2 separate regions of the Homo sapiens genome follow, and region 2 is linked to region 1. The links are contacts of gene promoters, found by promoter capture Hi-C in human tissues and cell types (Jung and others, 2019). All regions are on one chromosome and are shown on one strand. The core of a region is centred on a gene start or on the middle of the fragment in contact, and the rest is flanking DNA. Distances in the headings are between cores, read along the strand shown.

Region 1 (7,319 bases), core at 2,037-4,536:
TACATACAATCAAATAAAGTTTAAAACATAGCCAGGAGAAATGCCACAGGGCTAGAAGTTCTCCGGGGCTCTGTGTTCCTAAGGCTAGTTAGGGCAGGAGTCCTTCAGAAACCACAGGGTTTGCCGGCAGCTTTAGCAGCTGTGCCTCATGGTTAAGGGGGCAAGGGGATGTATGAAAGAGAGGCGGAAAATGGAAAACAGGCTCACCTCCTCTACAGAAGTGCTACTGAGGATCTAGCAACTTGCCATCTGCTTTCCTCTTCTCCACTTGCCAGGCCTCTCTGAGCTCAGAGCTCCTGCAGTCCATACCTAACCCTGGCCCAGAGGACTCTGCCCTGAGGGGACCTGATACAAGGACTAAGGCATTCGTCCAAGGGGCAGGAAGTTGGGACCCAGCCATGACCCTCTGCCTGGAGAAGCAGCAGCAGAGAAGGCTAGAGCCCTAGACACTGCCCTGGGAGCTCACTCTCGAACCCATTTCCTCCCCTACCTACCGCTCCCAGTGTGTCAGCAGCGATCCTACCTCTCACACCCTCTTTAGGGTTCTCCTTCATATCTGTCTTGTAAACAGACCACCCCTCAGAGAACAAAGAGTCTCCCAATCTCCATCAGAGGTGACTTTCTTGCCAGAACTGAAGCTGCACCAAGGCTCAGCAGAAGAGGCCCTAGAGATCATTGGAACCAAGTCTTACATTTGACAAATAGAAAAACAGAGGCCCAAGGATGGAAGTGACTGGTCCAAGGTCACACAGCCTGTTGGTGGCTAATTTAGGACTAGGGGCCAGGCCTTCAGACTTCCAGAGCATGGTGGCTTTCCCTATGGTACTGGAAGAGCTACTACCAGCGGGCTTGTAGACAGCAAAGCAGTCCCCAGTGCCTTTCCTGCATCCCTCTTGCTCTCTGTTCCCCACAAGAACACGCTGGTCTGTGAAGGGCCAGCAAGGGGAGAGAAGATAGGGTTAAGGTGGGGATTTTATTTAATCCCCTGAGCTTGCTTAAGCCAAAGCCACATTGGTTAGAGCAGGAGGTGAGCGACATGGAGGGTTTGTTGGGGGCTGGGTATGGGGGTGGAGGAGTGTTGAATAGTTACTGGATACCAAGAAGCTAGGCCTGCCAGTGGGCTTAACAGGTAAGCACCCACTTTCATGGACTCCCTGTCCCATCCCTGCTTCAAGGTTCAGGTCTCCAAGCAGTGCTCCTCTACCATGGAAGTCCCCCAGTAGCCAGGATGCCCAACGATGCAGAGCAGTGCAAAGATCACTGGCCATAGATTGAGACAGACTTGAGGGCAAACCCCAGCTCTGCCACATACATGCTGTGTGACCTCAGGCAAGTCATTTCACCTCTCTGAGCCTCAGTTCCTTCCACTGTTAAAGAGAACTGAACACACCTTCCTTGCAGGCCTCCAGGGAAGGAAGGCTGCATGAGCTCGCGCACAAAAAGAGACACAGGGGAGGCGCTGAGTTAATCCTCAGCGCTATTATTAAAACCTCACACCCTTTCTCTCTCTAGCCGGGCCCATCCATTACTCCTCTGTCCCAGCCTGCTTGCATCTTTGACATTAATAACCTTAATATCCCTCCCAGCTGAATAGCATTTGCATCATTTCAAAACCCTAAGCATCTTACCCCAGGTGGGCCACAACAGCCCTGCCAGAAGTAGCCAGAGCTGAGGAAGCCCCTGCACCCTCAAGTTCATCTTCTCACAATGCTCCCAAGTCCCAGAACCAGGGCCAATGGCAAAGTTTGGAGTTGGGCCCAAGAATCCGCACAAACATTCAGTCTTGGGGCAGACCTCAGGAGGGCAAGGGTAGGCCCTGGCTTACCAGAAGGAGCCAAAACCACCCCACCTCCATCACTTGCACCCCAACCCTCCATCTGGCCCCACTGCTCTGACCCTCCATCTGACCCCACTCTGGGCTGCCGGTCCCACTTTGGCCTCCAGCTCCCCAATTCTGGGACCCAGCTGGGCAGCTGGAAAGGGTGGAGTCTGGCCCTTGAATGGACGGCCAAGCCCGAGGCCACCGCCAGACTGTGAGCTCAGTACCCAGACAGATCTCTCTGAAGAGTGTGGGTTCACACCCTTGATGTTATTGGTTCTTTAACAGCCTGTCACAACCCAGGACCCATATTATCACCCTCACAGCACACAAGAAGAAACTGAGGCCCAAAGTGGACCCCTCCCCGACCAAGGTCATCCAGGGGATCTGGGATAGAGCTGGGATTGAACTCAGGTCTCCCTGGTCCCTTGACCCTGGCACTTTCCACTGCCCCATCATCTTTCCTCTTAACTCTTTCCTCCCTACAACTAGGAAGCCCCTGAAGTCTCTCCAATAAACGTGGGCCCCTATGACAAGGCCCAACAATCATCCTCCAATATGGGGGCTGCCAAGATGCCCACCTTTGCTTCCCCTGTCACATTCCCTCCCCACATCTTCAAGCCAACCACCTGGACCTGCCCTGTCTCTGGTAGCGGCTCCCGGGACTGGGCAGCGCCTTCTGCACAGAGTGGCTTTGGAGTGGAGCCAGCGCTCCCGGCATGGGCGGCAGAGGCTGGCAGGTGGGGTGGGGTTTCCCCTCCGCTGGCCTCCTCGGGGCGGCAGGCCCATCCCCACACCCACTGCTCAGCACCAGCCCCTGCCAGCGACGCTTCCCGCCGCGCACTCCCTGGAGGGACACCGCTAGCCGCCCAGCCCAGCTCTCCAGGGGTTAAAAATGCAGCATCCCAAACAAGGGTTAAAAATGCAGTCCCGGGGTTGGGCCGGGCGCGGAGGGATGTTGGCCAAACCGCCGGGGCTGCCAGAGCGGCATCCTCCCCCTGGCCTCCGCAGTCCTTGGGGGCCGGAGTGACTCGAGCGGATCCGGCAGCAAGAGAGGCGCGCGCCGCACCTTCCCGGCACCGGCGCCCCCTCCCCACACCCACACCCCCGCGCCCCCCGCAGCCTAGCCCGGGGGATGCAGGCGCCGGCGGGTCCCGGGCGCGGCGGGCGAGCGGCGCTTACCTTTGTGACAGTCATGCAGAAACTCCGCGGCGGAGCGGGGGCGCGGGCGCGGCGTGCGGGGGCGGCGGCGGCGGCCCGGGGCGGCGGCGGAAGGGGGTCCGGCAGCTCCCGGCTCGCTCCCCGCGCCCCGCCGGCGGCTCGGCCGAGCCTGGGGGCTGCGCTCCGGGCGGGCAGCGCGCAGGGACCGCTCGTCGGCGCTCGCCCGCCGCTCGTCGCTGATGTCAGCCCCGAATGTGCATTTATAATAGATGAGCCTCCTTCGCCGCAGGAAGGCGAGGCAGGAAGAAAGGGAGAGAGGGAGAGGGCCCGGGCTGGGGGGCGGGGGGAGGAAGAGGGGCCGGGAACTCGCTACAAAGGAGGAGGCGGAGGGAGGAGGAGGAGGAAGCGCAGCCCGCCAGCGGCCGTGCCCCGAGCCTCCCGCTCGATCGCCGGCCGCCGGGCACCGCTGCTCCCGGAGTCCGGACGGGCGCCCGGGTCCGCGGCCTTAACCCCTTCGGGCCTGCGGACGCCACGCGGCTGGGCGAGGCTGGCTCCCGGCACCTGCCGGCTGGGAGAACGGGCGGCGCCCCGGGCTCTCGGGTGTCCCGCTGGCCCGGGGACGCTGGTGAAGTCACAGGCTGGACGGCCGAGGCGCTGCGCGGGCAAAGAAGGCGGTCGGGTTCGCCCCCTGGAGGCTCGCAAAGTCGGCCCGTGGGCCGTGAGTGTGGCGCGGCGGGCTGGGAGGGGCGTGGCAGCCGCAAGCCCGGGAGCCCTGCCCGCACCCCCACCTCGCGCTGGCCCGGGGCACAGGGTGGCCAGACGGATTTGTGTAAGCACTCTTTCGAATCTAATTCCCGCCGCGATGACTTGCCCGAAGGCCGCCTTAGTGAGTTTTGCAGAGGAGGAAACTGACGATCAGAGTGGGACGGACGTGGGAAGTGACTTAGACCACAGCACAGGACCTGCCTGCCCGAGCCGTTCCTCCCGCTCTTTCCACTCGGCCGCTAGCTCCCTAAGGAACCTCTTGTTATAGAAGCTGCCCTGCCCTAGGACTGTCTACACTACCACTGAGTGCCGCTCTACTGGTGGAGTGATAACACAGGTGCGTCCTGTGTGTTGATCCAATCCTGACTCGGGGCACAGTGTGTCCTGGAGCTGCTGCGGAGATTTGAGGGACAGTCACCTGAAGGTGACCTCGCAAGTCTTGAGAAAGGAGTCTCCCTCCCAAGCACCTGAGCAGAACCGGTTTCCGCAGATACAGAACCGCGGAGAGGGTGGAGGGGAGGAGTTAGCAGAGGTGGAAGCAGAGGGGTTCTCCAAGCAGGACAGCCTGGCAAGCCCGGAAGTGCTGGCTTCCTGCTCCACGGTAATTACCGGTGCAATTCACCTGGACAGCGAAGGCAACGTCATATATGAGCACCTGCTCTGTGGAAAGTGCTGGGGGAACAGAGAGGAGATGGGATGCCTGCCTTCCGGGAGACCAGTGTCTAGATTGGAGCAATAATAATAGAGTAACCAGCCTCCAGGAAGTGCTTTGTGGGTCATTGTGCAATTTTTTTTTTTTTTTTTTTTTTGAGACCGGAGTAGTCTCACTCTGTCGCCCAGGCTGGAGTGCAGTGGCGCGATCTCGGCTCACTGCAACCTCCGCCTCCTGGATTCAAGCGATTCTTCTGCCTCAGCCCCCCGAGGATCTGGGACTACAGGAACGCGCTACCACGCCCGGCTAATTTTTTATTTTTATTAGAGACGGGGTTTCACCGTATTGGCCAGGCTGGTCTCGAACTCCTGACCTCGTGATCCACCCGCCTCGGCCTCCCAAAGTGCTGGGATTACAGACATGAGCAACCGCCCCCGGCCCTGCCATTTTTAACCACATTTTCTTGGGAGTCCTAAATGCAACAGTGTGAGGAAAGAATTACCGTCCCCATTTTGCTGATGAGTAAACGGATTTAGAGAAGGGAAGGGAATTGCCCAAGAGCACACAGTGACAGAGCGAGGACTTGAATGAAAGTCTTCTTAAATCAAGCTCAGCATTGTGCTTTGAATCCGTGAACTGCAGGGTCCATTCCTACTTGCTGCCTTATTTGAGTTTCACAGGTGTCTTAGGACATAGGTAGGCAGCTATTCGTTCCCCAGGGGAGTTCCAGGGACTTACTAAATCTCTTGGGTAGCAGATGTGCTGCAGACCTCAGGCGTCTCCTCTGTGCAAAACCCTTCCTAAGGCATCTTCCCACGTTGCTTGCCTGCCAGGAATGCTCTCTTATTCTTCTGCACTAACTCAAACGCATCCCACCTCTCACGGCACCACCTCCTTGCCACCTCTCCTGACAACTCCAGCCCAATGGCTCTCCCTGTTGCATTTAGTTCTGAGGGTCTGGTCTCATTTTCATGAGCCTCTGAGCACAGAGGCATGCCTTCTCTCACTGTGTACCCCTGGGCACATAGTAGGAGCTTAGCAAATATTTAATGCCACCAAGAACAAATCAAGCAAAATATACCTTTAACCTGCAGCAGAGGAAATTTAAATTAGGCCCATGAAAGCATTTCCCACCAGCGAGCTGTCCAGCATTGGAAGAGTCAGATTCCCTGTCTCAGCTGTCTTGGGCAGGTCAGCCTCTAGCCAGAAGGATGGAGCTCAAGACCTTTCCAGGGCCCTTCCAGCCCTAGGACCCCATCGGAAACCTTTAAAGGGCAACTCAAGGACACCAGTCACCCTGCACCCATGGCTGTGACTTGTCTGTCCACTTTTATATCTTACAGAGATTTCAAATCCCAGATTGTCATCCTGAGCTCCCAGCATGCCTCTTGGCACCTTTCCCGCCATCCGCCGTTGTTGTGGGCTCTGAGAATGAGACAAGTACTTAATAGCAGCTTGAGCCAAATGTAATTAGGAACATCAATCTGCTGCCCCCAACCCATGTGATGTTCTCCAAAGGCAGAAGGAAAATGTTTCTGATCCCTCCTGTGCTGCTGGCTCACCTCTTCTGTCACATCTCCCCAGGCAGAAGGGAGGTCTAGAAAAGCAAGGGCAAACTCAGACAATGCCACATCCCCTTGTGCCCAGTCACGGCCTCTGCATGTAGGAGATACTGAGAAATACATGCATTTTCTTTCTTTCTTTCTTTTTTTTTTTTTTTTTTTTTTTTGCGACGTAGTCTCACTCTGTCACCCAGGCTGAAGTGCAATGGCGTGGTCTTGGCTCACTGCAACTTCTGCCTCTCGGGTTCAAGCGATTCTCCCACCTCCACCTCCTGAGTAGCTGGGACTACAGGTGCCCGCCACCCCACCTGACTAATTTTTGTATTTTTAGTAGAGATGGGGTTTCACTATGTTGGCCAGGCTGGTCTCGAACTCCTGACCTTGTGACCTGCCCGCCTCGGCCTCCCAAAGTGTTGGGATTACAGGTGTGAGCCACCACACCCAGCCAATACATGCATTTTATATGTGCGATTGTTAACACCACAACACTACTCATCCTGGGTCTCCAGTAACATAGCCCATCTTAGTTTGGGTTTCCTCCAAAGCAAAGCCTGAGAGAGGTGTTGGATGCAGGTGATTTAATTGGAAGGTGATCACAGGAGTGGAAGATTGGGGCAGTGGAGGTGGGGAGTAGTGCGGTTGAGAAGGAGCAAAGGTGAATACACCAGTATAAAGGTGTATTCTCACTGGGCGCGTTGGCTCACACCTGTAATCCCAGCACTTTGGGAGGCCGAGGCGGGGGCAGATCACAAGGTCAGGAGTTCGAGACCAGCCTGGCCAAGAGGGTGAAACCCCCATTTCTACTAAACATACCAAAATTAGCCAGACGCGGTGGTGGGCACCTGTAATCCCAGCTACTCAGGAGGCTGAGGCAGAATTGCTTGAACTTGGGAGGCGGAGGTTGCAGTGAGCTGAGATCGCGCCACTGCACTCCAGCCTGAGTGACAGACGAAGTCTCAGAGGAAAAAAAAAAAAAAGAAAAAGGTGTATTCTCAGGGTCACTGCAGGAGGCATCCAGAGGAGTGAGGCTCAGTTCCCCAGAGACCCGTGGATCAGATACAGAATTGCCTGTCAGCCTAGCGGGTGTTTATCCACCCTCCTCTTCCCCATTGTTTGAGGGCTGACCCGAGGGCATTACCTTCTTGCACTTCAGGGCTATGCTTTTGGGAGGGCAGAGCAGGCCTCTCAGCTTCAGAGAATGTCCTGGGGCAGAAAGTAAAAAGTCCCTGGTTCTTATGGAGGTGGGATGCTGTCAGCTCAAGTCTGGGCTCTTTCAGATGCTCTAAGCTGCAGGTGAGCTCAGAGGTGGGGTAGCCTGAGGGGATACGGTACACATTGTGGGGTAAATAAGACGTTGCAG
Region 2 (7,319 bases), core at 2,872-5,371, 230 kb before region 1:
CTCATCATTGTGGTCTTCAGAGCTCCACACTGTGCCTGGCACATGGTAAGCATTCTAGAAGTACTGATGGAGTGAAGGATCTGTGGTACTTATACCTTCTTGTCACTTTCATCACCTACCGGTTGGTACATCAAGCACGAAGCCACTGAAACGAAGCGCACACCTTCACACCCGCACCCCCACGCCCGCTGGTGTGACTTTCTGATGGAGTTGCTCTGGGTGGGTGATGCACACTTCTTAGGTCGCTGGTCATCATGTTTTTCTCATTATCACATCCCTTATCAGTAAACAATTTGAACCTGAGCCCCAGTATGTCTACCTTGCAGTTATGGATTATTCACATACACTACCTATAAATATGGACATTATAAAATGTAACGCCAAAAATATAAATTAAAAAGGATACATTTAAACATCTAAAAAGTCCTGAAATTCTTGCATCCCAGTGGATTGGCTTGGGCAGTCCACATAAGAGACTACTGTTCTAATTAATTGCTCGTTTTATTTTAAATTCAGTTACTAAAGTTCACTCTGTAAAAGAAACGCTCATACCTTCCTAGACACTGCTTGTTAAGATCTCTCCAGCTCTAGTGTGTGATGAGTAGGGGTAGGGGACATTCACAGTCTCCCTTTAATACAATAAGCTAGCTTGCCCGAGATCCTTGGTGAATCAAGGCTCCACTGCCGTGTGTCAGCTTGGTGCTCTTTGTTTAGGCTGTGTGGACAGATCCACCAAAGTCCCCTCCAGTCACCCCTGGGGTCCCACAGAGGTAAACCCCCGGGTTCTCTCTGCCCATGTCCTGAGAGGCCAGGAAGTAGCTACGATAAGGATTCCATCAGCCATAGACTCAGGGTGGGTGGGAAGGTGGCTTTCTCCTAGTTATCTTGGAGTGGGGAACAAGTAAGAGGCAGGATGTGTGGGCTGGAAGGGCAGAGACAGAGGTGCACAGTGAAGCTTGAAAGAGAGAGGCCCGCAGAGTGTGTTTGCTGAGAGATTTCAGCAAAGTTGTGCTGGAACTCTGCAGCCAGCAGTGCCCAGTGCTGGGTTTCTGGATTCTGCTGCCTCCTGTAGAATTCGTGAGAACTACGTGTGTATGCATGTGCGTGTGCAGGGGGTGATAGGGTGGAGGCAAGGGCCTGTCATTCTCAATTTAGAGGAATTACTTTCAGATTTCTTCAGGGACCATGCATCTGGAGGAGGGACTCATCTTCAATTTATGTAACCAACTGTCACCTTAGCCATTGGCTTCATGGGCAGGCCTAAGTGGTGTAACTGAATGGACGGGTGAGGGGAGTCCACTGATATGGCCTGTGTGCCCAGCATCGGGAATGAGACAAGGAGTTGTATAAATGCTATGTAAGTATTTTTGTAGCAAATTTAATTTCTTGAATCCAGTCCTTGCATCCTGGGCTGGGTAGGAGAGAAGAGAGTGGTTATAGTGGATGGTGGTGCCTGGCTCCTGTGGTGGAGCTGGAGTGATGGAGCATAGCACATACACTGCAGGGAAGAAGGTGTGTGGTTAGTAAAGCCGATTTCAACCCCAGCTGTGGATCAGAACTGCCAGGGGAGCATCTGAAGCAATACCCAGGCTCTGCCTGAACTGAATCAGTCTCTGAGGGTGGTGCCCCAGTCCGTGTATTTTTAGAAAGCTCTAAAGGGGACTCTAAAGCACAGTTGGGAACCACCCCATGGAGCAGGGTGCAGAGCTTCACAGCAGGTAGGAAGAAGTAACTAAGTGGAAACTAGAGGAAAATGGAGCAGAGAAACCAGGAAATAGGAAAGAAGGATGCAGGATTTAATCTGCTGGGGTTCAGGGATCCGCTCCTTGACCTGCCCCCCACATCCCCACCACCATGGGATTGTTCACACAACCACGTTCTGCTCATCACACTTGGAATTTTTCATTTACGTGTATCTCAGGATGCTGCTCCTGGGAGTGTCAAGTGGGCATTACCGATCAAGACTGGACTTGGCCCATCCTTCATGTCCAGCTCTTGAGAGGCCGTGGACCTTTTGTAAAAGGGCGGGGGCCCAGGCGCAGACCCAGGCAGTCAGGTACAGTGGGCAGTAGTGCTTGAGAACTGCTGAGCCTGAGGATGTTGGCAGGTCACCTCACTGAGCCTCAGTTGCCACATCTGTGAAACGGTGAATAACCTGCTTCCCAGAGCTTGTTGTTAGCACGGAAAGAAATATCGTTTATGCCAGGTATGGGTTGTAGACGGACCCTGAAGGTTAGATTCTACCCGTCAGGGCTTGAATGAGCTGTTTGGTCAGCGGTGGGGGTGGGGTGGAGTCAGCCCCTCTCCAGAAGGTGCTTGCTGGGGTGGGAGCAAGTCTGAGAAGAGCTGTCTCGGCCTGCCCCAGGAGGAGGCCTCGCCTGGAGCTGTGAAGCGGAGGGGAGGGGCAGGGAGGCTCTGGGCAAAGGAGAGACTCCCCCCCCCCCGTTTTCTGTGGAGGTGGGGCGGGAGGAATACCAGCCAAGCTGCAGGCATCCCCTTGCCCCGGGCCTCTTCTGGGGTGGGGGCTGTCGCGCTGGCTCACCTTTCCCATAGCAGTTGCTCCGTGACCCTAGCCTTCTTGCCTTTAAACTCCCCTCTGGCTGCAGAAGTCTGGGCCAGCCTCTCCCAGTCCTTTATCTTTCATTCATACAGCTCCTGAGAGGTCCCCTTTTCTGGGAAGCCCTCCTCAACTCACTGGAAGAAAGGGAGCAAACTGTGTCCACCTAGGTGACATAAAGGTAAAAGTCCTGGGGACTTCCAGGGCACGCAGCAGCGTTCGCCTCTCAGCCAAGTCCAATAGCACTCACTTAGGTGTGCATCTGTGGCTTTCTCTCTGTCTGGTCAGTGCTCCTTTATATGTCCATACCCCCTGCCAGAGGGCAGCATTGACGGTGTACAGAGCCCAGTGTGACTCTCCTGCAGCTGGGGACATAGAAGAGCTCTGTGACGATGGCAGATGTGGTTCTCCAGCCTCTTGCCTGGCTGCCAGTGGGAGTAGCCTGTCTGTTCTGGCACAGGGGGCTGTTCCATATGGAGGGTCAGAAACTGGCCTTCACAGCCACCCAGGCGTTCCTTCCACTTCTGCACGTCTTCCTTTCCCCATGAAGATTTGGGTGTACCCTGGTTGTGGTCTCTGAAGACTGGGCAGGCCTGTACTTTGTGAAGCTTTCAGCTGTCTCTGGTAGGCCTGATGAAGCCTATCTGCAGAGGTTGGCCTGAAGCCATAATGAGCAGTTCTGTTCTTTTTAGCCCTTGTCTAGTTTATGGCTCTGTTGCAGACATGCCTTTCTGTGTCTTGGTTAAAAGTACTGGTGTGTCTTTGCATTTAGGTGTGGTCTGTGAGTCTGGGAAGGCTTCTAGAGGAGAGCCCTCCAGGGTTGCTCTTTGGGGTGGGAGTAGTGGGAGCGGAAATGGAACGCTGACTGCCCTCTTAAAGCCAGAAGGGTACTTCATTCAGGGCAGGCAGTTGGCATGTGTAGGCACTCAGGAGTCTTCCTTCAGTTTCAGCGGCCGGTGTTCATCATCAGGAGTGGCAGGGTTGGATATGGGAGTGAGAATGTGCCTCTGAGATTGACCAGTGGCCATAGACTCCAGCAAGATGTGCATCTTGGTCTGAGAGGCACCCACTGTACCAGAAACCAGACTTGTATCGACCAATGGCTTATTAGCCCCAGGAGGCTTATTACTGCCACAAATGTCCCTGATGGTGAGCAGCACTTGGCCACTACTGTCTGATGTTAACCAGAGTTATGGGGGTGGTTTCTGCAAATACACAATACTGTGGAGGGGTTATGTGGCTTACCCAGAGGTGCCCAGATAGCAAATGAAGGTGTAAGATTGGAATCCCTGTCTTTCTGGTTGACCCTTGGCTTGGCTAATCATTCATTCATTCATTCCACACACATTGATGAATGCCGACTCTGTACTGGGTTCTGTTCTAGGAACTAGACAGACACATCACCTATGCTGCTCTTGTGGGGCTTCTGTTCCGCTGGGGGAGACAGTCAGTAGTAAGCCTTCAAGCAAAGGCATGGCTGCTGGTGTGATGAGTGCCATGAAGACCCATAAGGCTGCGTTAAAGGAGATGGGTGGTCCAGGAAGGCCTCTCTGAGGAGGTGGCATTTGAGCACTCAAGTGCCTTACACTGGACTTCTGACCCCATGAGCTGGAACTTAGGATATCTGATCTAGAAGTACCTCTAGAAGTCCTCTTCCCAATAAACAAGCTAAGGCCCAGTGAGCTTAAGGTGTGAATTCATGGGATGATTCATGGGAAAGATGAAATTAAACCCAAGAAGGACAAGTATAATAGCCGGCCACTGCTCTGCTCACACCAGCCTTGGGCTCCAGCCCTCTGCCTTTTCATCCCAGAATGTGTTTTATTATCTTCAAGACTCAGCCCTTTGAAAGATTTAGACTTCCAAATTGCATTTATTAACAATAATACATTTATTTTCTCATGGCTGGGTGTGGGGAGGGGGTAGAAATTTTAAACACATTTGTGACGGTTGATCAGCCCTCCAGGTAAGGCAACGGCTGACTGCCTGGAGCTGGTGTTTTTCCTGCCTAGGCGGAGACACCGCCCAATTTTGTACCACCAGCTGCCGTCACTGTCAGAGTGGAATTTCCATTGGTGTTTCTGAAATAGCAGTGTTTCCTGGAGGACCCCCATTTGTACTTTCTGGATTCCATCTGGACCTGGTTTAGGGGGTTAGATGCTTTTGAATGGGGGCTGGAGAGACCCTACTGATGCCTCTGACCAGAGATGGTGAGGCAGGACTCACAGGGCCCCCAGGGTTTATTTTAGGGAGAGAGAAGCCCACAGTTAAATCAGAGGTCACAAATACAGCAGCAGACCCCACCTCTCCCAAGGACCAGACTGAGCTATAATTGGCCAATAATTTCATCTAAAAGCAGGAATCCTACATCAATTTGAAAGGAGCTTCTGGCTGAAGTAAGACTTTATTAATTAGCCTGTTAGGAAAATAGTTTCCCAGTATTATGAGGGCTGGATAATTTCATGCCCACTGTTTTTCTTGAAGCTTCTCAAAGGCAGACACAGCCGCGTGCAGCGGCTCACGCCTACAATCTCAGCACGTTGGGAGGTCGAGGCAGGTGGATCACGAGGCCAGGAGATCGAGACCATCCTGGCCAACATGGTGAAACCCCATCTCTACAAAAATACAAAAATTAATTGGGCGTGGTGGTGGGCGCCTGTAATCCCAGCTACTCAGGAGGCTGAGGCAGGAGAATCAGAGGTTGCAGTGAACCGAGATTGTGCCACTACACTCCAGCCTGGCCACAGAGCGAGACTCAGAAAACAAGGGAAGACACTAGATTTTCATTTTTGTACTAAATAGAAAAAGTAATATCTTTTTAAAAATGTGTTTTGTTTGTTTTTAACTGTTTGTTCATGCCAATGTGCCAGGCACCATATTTATTCTTTAATCTATACAGAAATGCTGCTGGATGAATGGAATTATGCTCACTCTGCCAATGAGGGAACCAAGGCTCAGAAAGGTTAAGTAACCAACCTAAGGTCAGGTAGTACTGAGGAGCTGTGCTTGGATACAAAACCAGGTCATCCAACCTGGAATCTTAGCTTTGACCCCCAACCTTCTCCCGGCAACTTTGATGATAATATGGAAATACCTTAGACTCTTGACTTGACTTTACTTTCTCTTCTCTGTTATAAAATCTGCTACATTTCTTTTCCTGGGAAAGCGAAATAGATTATGCCAAAAGTTCTGATTTTTAAAAATGTTTTATTGTGGGCCGGGCGCAGTGGCTCATGCCTGTAATCCCAGGACTTTGGGAGGCCGAGGTGGGTGGATCATGAAGTCAGGAGATCAAGACCATCCTGGCCAACACAGTGAAACCCCATGTCTACTAAAAATACAAAAATTAACTGGGCTTGGTGGTGCACGCCTGTAATCCCAGCTACTCAGGAGGCTGAGGCAGGAGAATCCCTTGAACCTGGGAGGCGGAGGTTGTAGTGAGCCGAGATTGTGCCACTGCACTCCAGCCTGGCAACAGAGCAAGACTCCGTCTCAAAAAAAAAAAAAAAAAAAAAAGTTTGTGAAATAGAGCACATAAAACCAAACAATATGTGTGAGATTTAATGATTTTTGTCCTATTTTTTTTCTATTTATTATTTAATACTTTCAGGGGTATCCTAGTAAAAGCGACTTTCCATGTGCCTGCCTGTGCCTTTCTGTGCCAGGGTCTTAAGAAATGTGTGTGGGTTTCCTCTGTGGCTCTGACACTCCATCAAACACCAGGGCTTGTGCACGCAGGTGAGAAGCATACCCAGGTGCCTCAGAGATATTGAAGAGGGTCTGGAATGTGGGAGAGAGGCAAATGGCTTTCCAATAAAAGTAGGCTAAGACATAATTAGGGGCTTAGGTGCTGCTTTAAAAAATAAGTAGCAGTGTATTCCAGACTCCTCTAAGAAAAGAGAATTGCTCATTGTGGAACAGGCATGGCAATGCAGTGCCTTTGCCTGGAACACCTTGCTGCTGCCATCACTAAGACCCATTCTGGGACAAGAGGAGGCTTACCCCTTATTGAGTATCTGCCATGAGCTTTGTGTGGTCCTTGCTTGCTAGGTACTTGGCAAGCATTATCTTTTTTACCTTTTAAAACACCCCTGAGGTGTAGGTAAGGCCACCCATTTCCTGACAGAGATTGGCCTACAAAGGTCAGATGGCTTCCGGGGCACACTGAGCGGCCCTTGTGTGTCGGAATGTTCCCTTCTGTTTGTCCCTTCCAGGCTGGACACTTTGGGAGCAGAAGTCAAAGACACCTTTATCATTGTACCCTCAGCACCTGGTGTAGTGCCTGGGATTTAGTAGTTCTGAGGAGCGTGTATTGAATGAATGGAGGTTAAGTAACTTAGACATTAGATAGTAGGACTCTGGGCTGGGCACAATGGCTCACGTCTGTAATCCCAGCACTTTGGGAGGCCAAGGTGGGTGGATCACCTGAGGTCAGGAGTTCGAGACCAGCCTGACCAACATGGTGAAACCCCGTCTCTACCAAAAATATAAAAAATTAGCCGGGCATGATGGCACATACCTGTAATCCCAGCTACTTGGGAGGCTGAGGCAGGAGAATCACTTGAACCTGGGAGGTGGAAGTTGCGCTGAGCCGAGATGGCGTCACTGCCCGCCAGCCTGGGCGAGAAGAACAAAATTCCGTCTCAAATAAATAAATAAGATAATAGGACTCTGAGGCTGTATGACTGCCACCCTGTAGGTCAGAAATGGGATCTGATTCCAGCTCTTATCCGTAAGCTAGGTGAATGCAAACTGACATGCC

Evidence for each region. The method cuts DNA at HindIII sites, captures the fragments that hold promoters and counts their contacts. A contact is called where the count stands out against the background at its distance.
Region 2: a fragment that was not itself captured here is called in contact with the fragment with the promoter of CORO2B in region 1 in 1 of the 25 tissues and cell types used here (dorsolateral prefrontal cortex).

What each region holds. Positions count from the first base shown.
Region 1 is chr15:68,574,960-68,582,278 of GRCh38, reverse strand. It overlaps CORO2B (coronin 2B), which reads right to left and starts at 3,286. Exons shown (of 12, transcript NM_006091.5): 1 at 3,002-3,286. The coding sequence starts at 3,016. RefSeq lists an enhancer at 2,231-3,098. The HindIII fragment of the contact is 24,079 bases long and covers 1-7,319 here.
Region 2 is chr15:68,802,553-68,809,871 of GRCh38, reverse strand. All of the region lies in intron 1 of ANP32A (acidic nuclear phosphoprotein 32 family member A), which reads left to right. ANP32A-IT1 (ANP32A intronic transcript 1) reads left to right here and starts at 2,771. Exons shown (of 1, transcript NR_026808.1): 1 at 2,771-6,051. The HindIII fragment of the contact is 4,122 bases long and covers 2,061-6,182 here.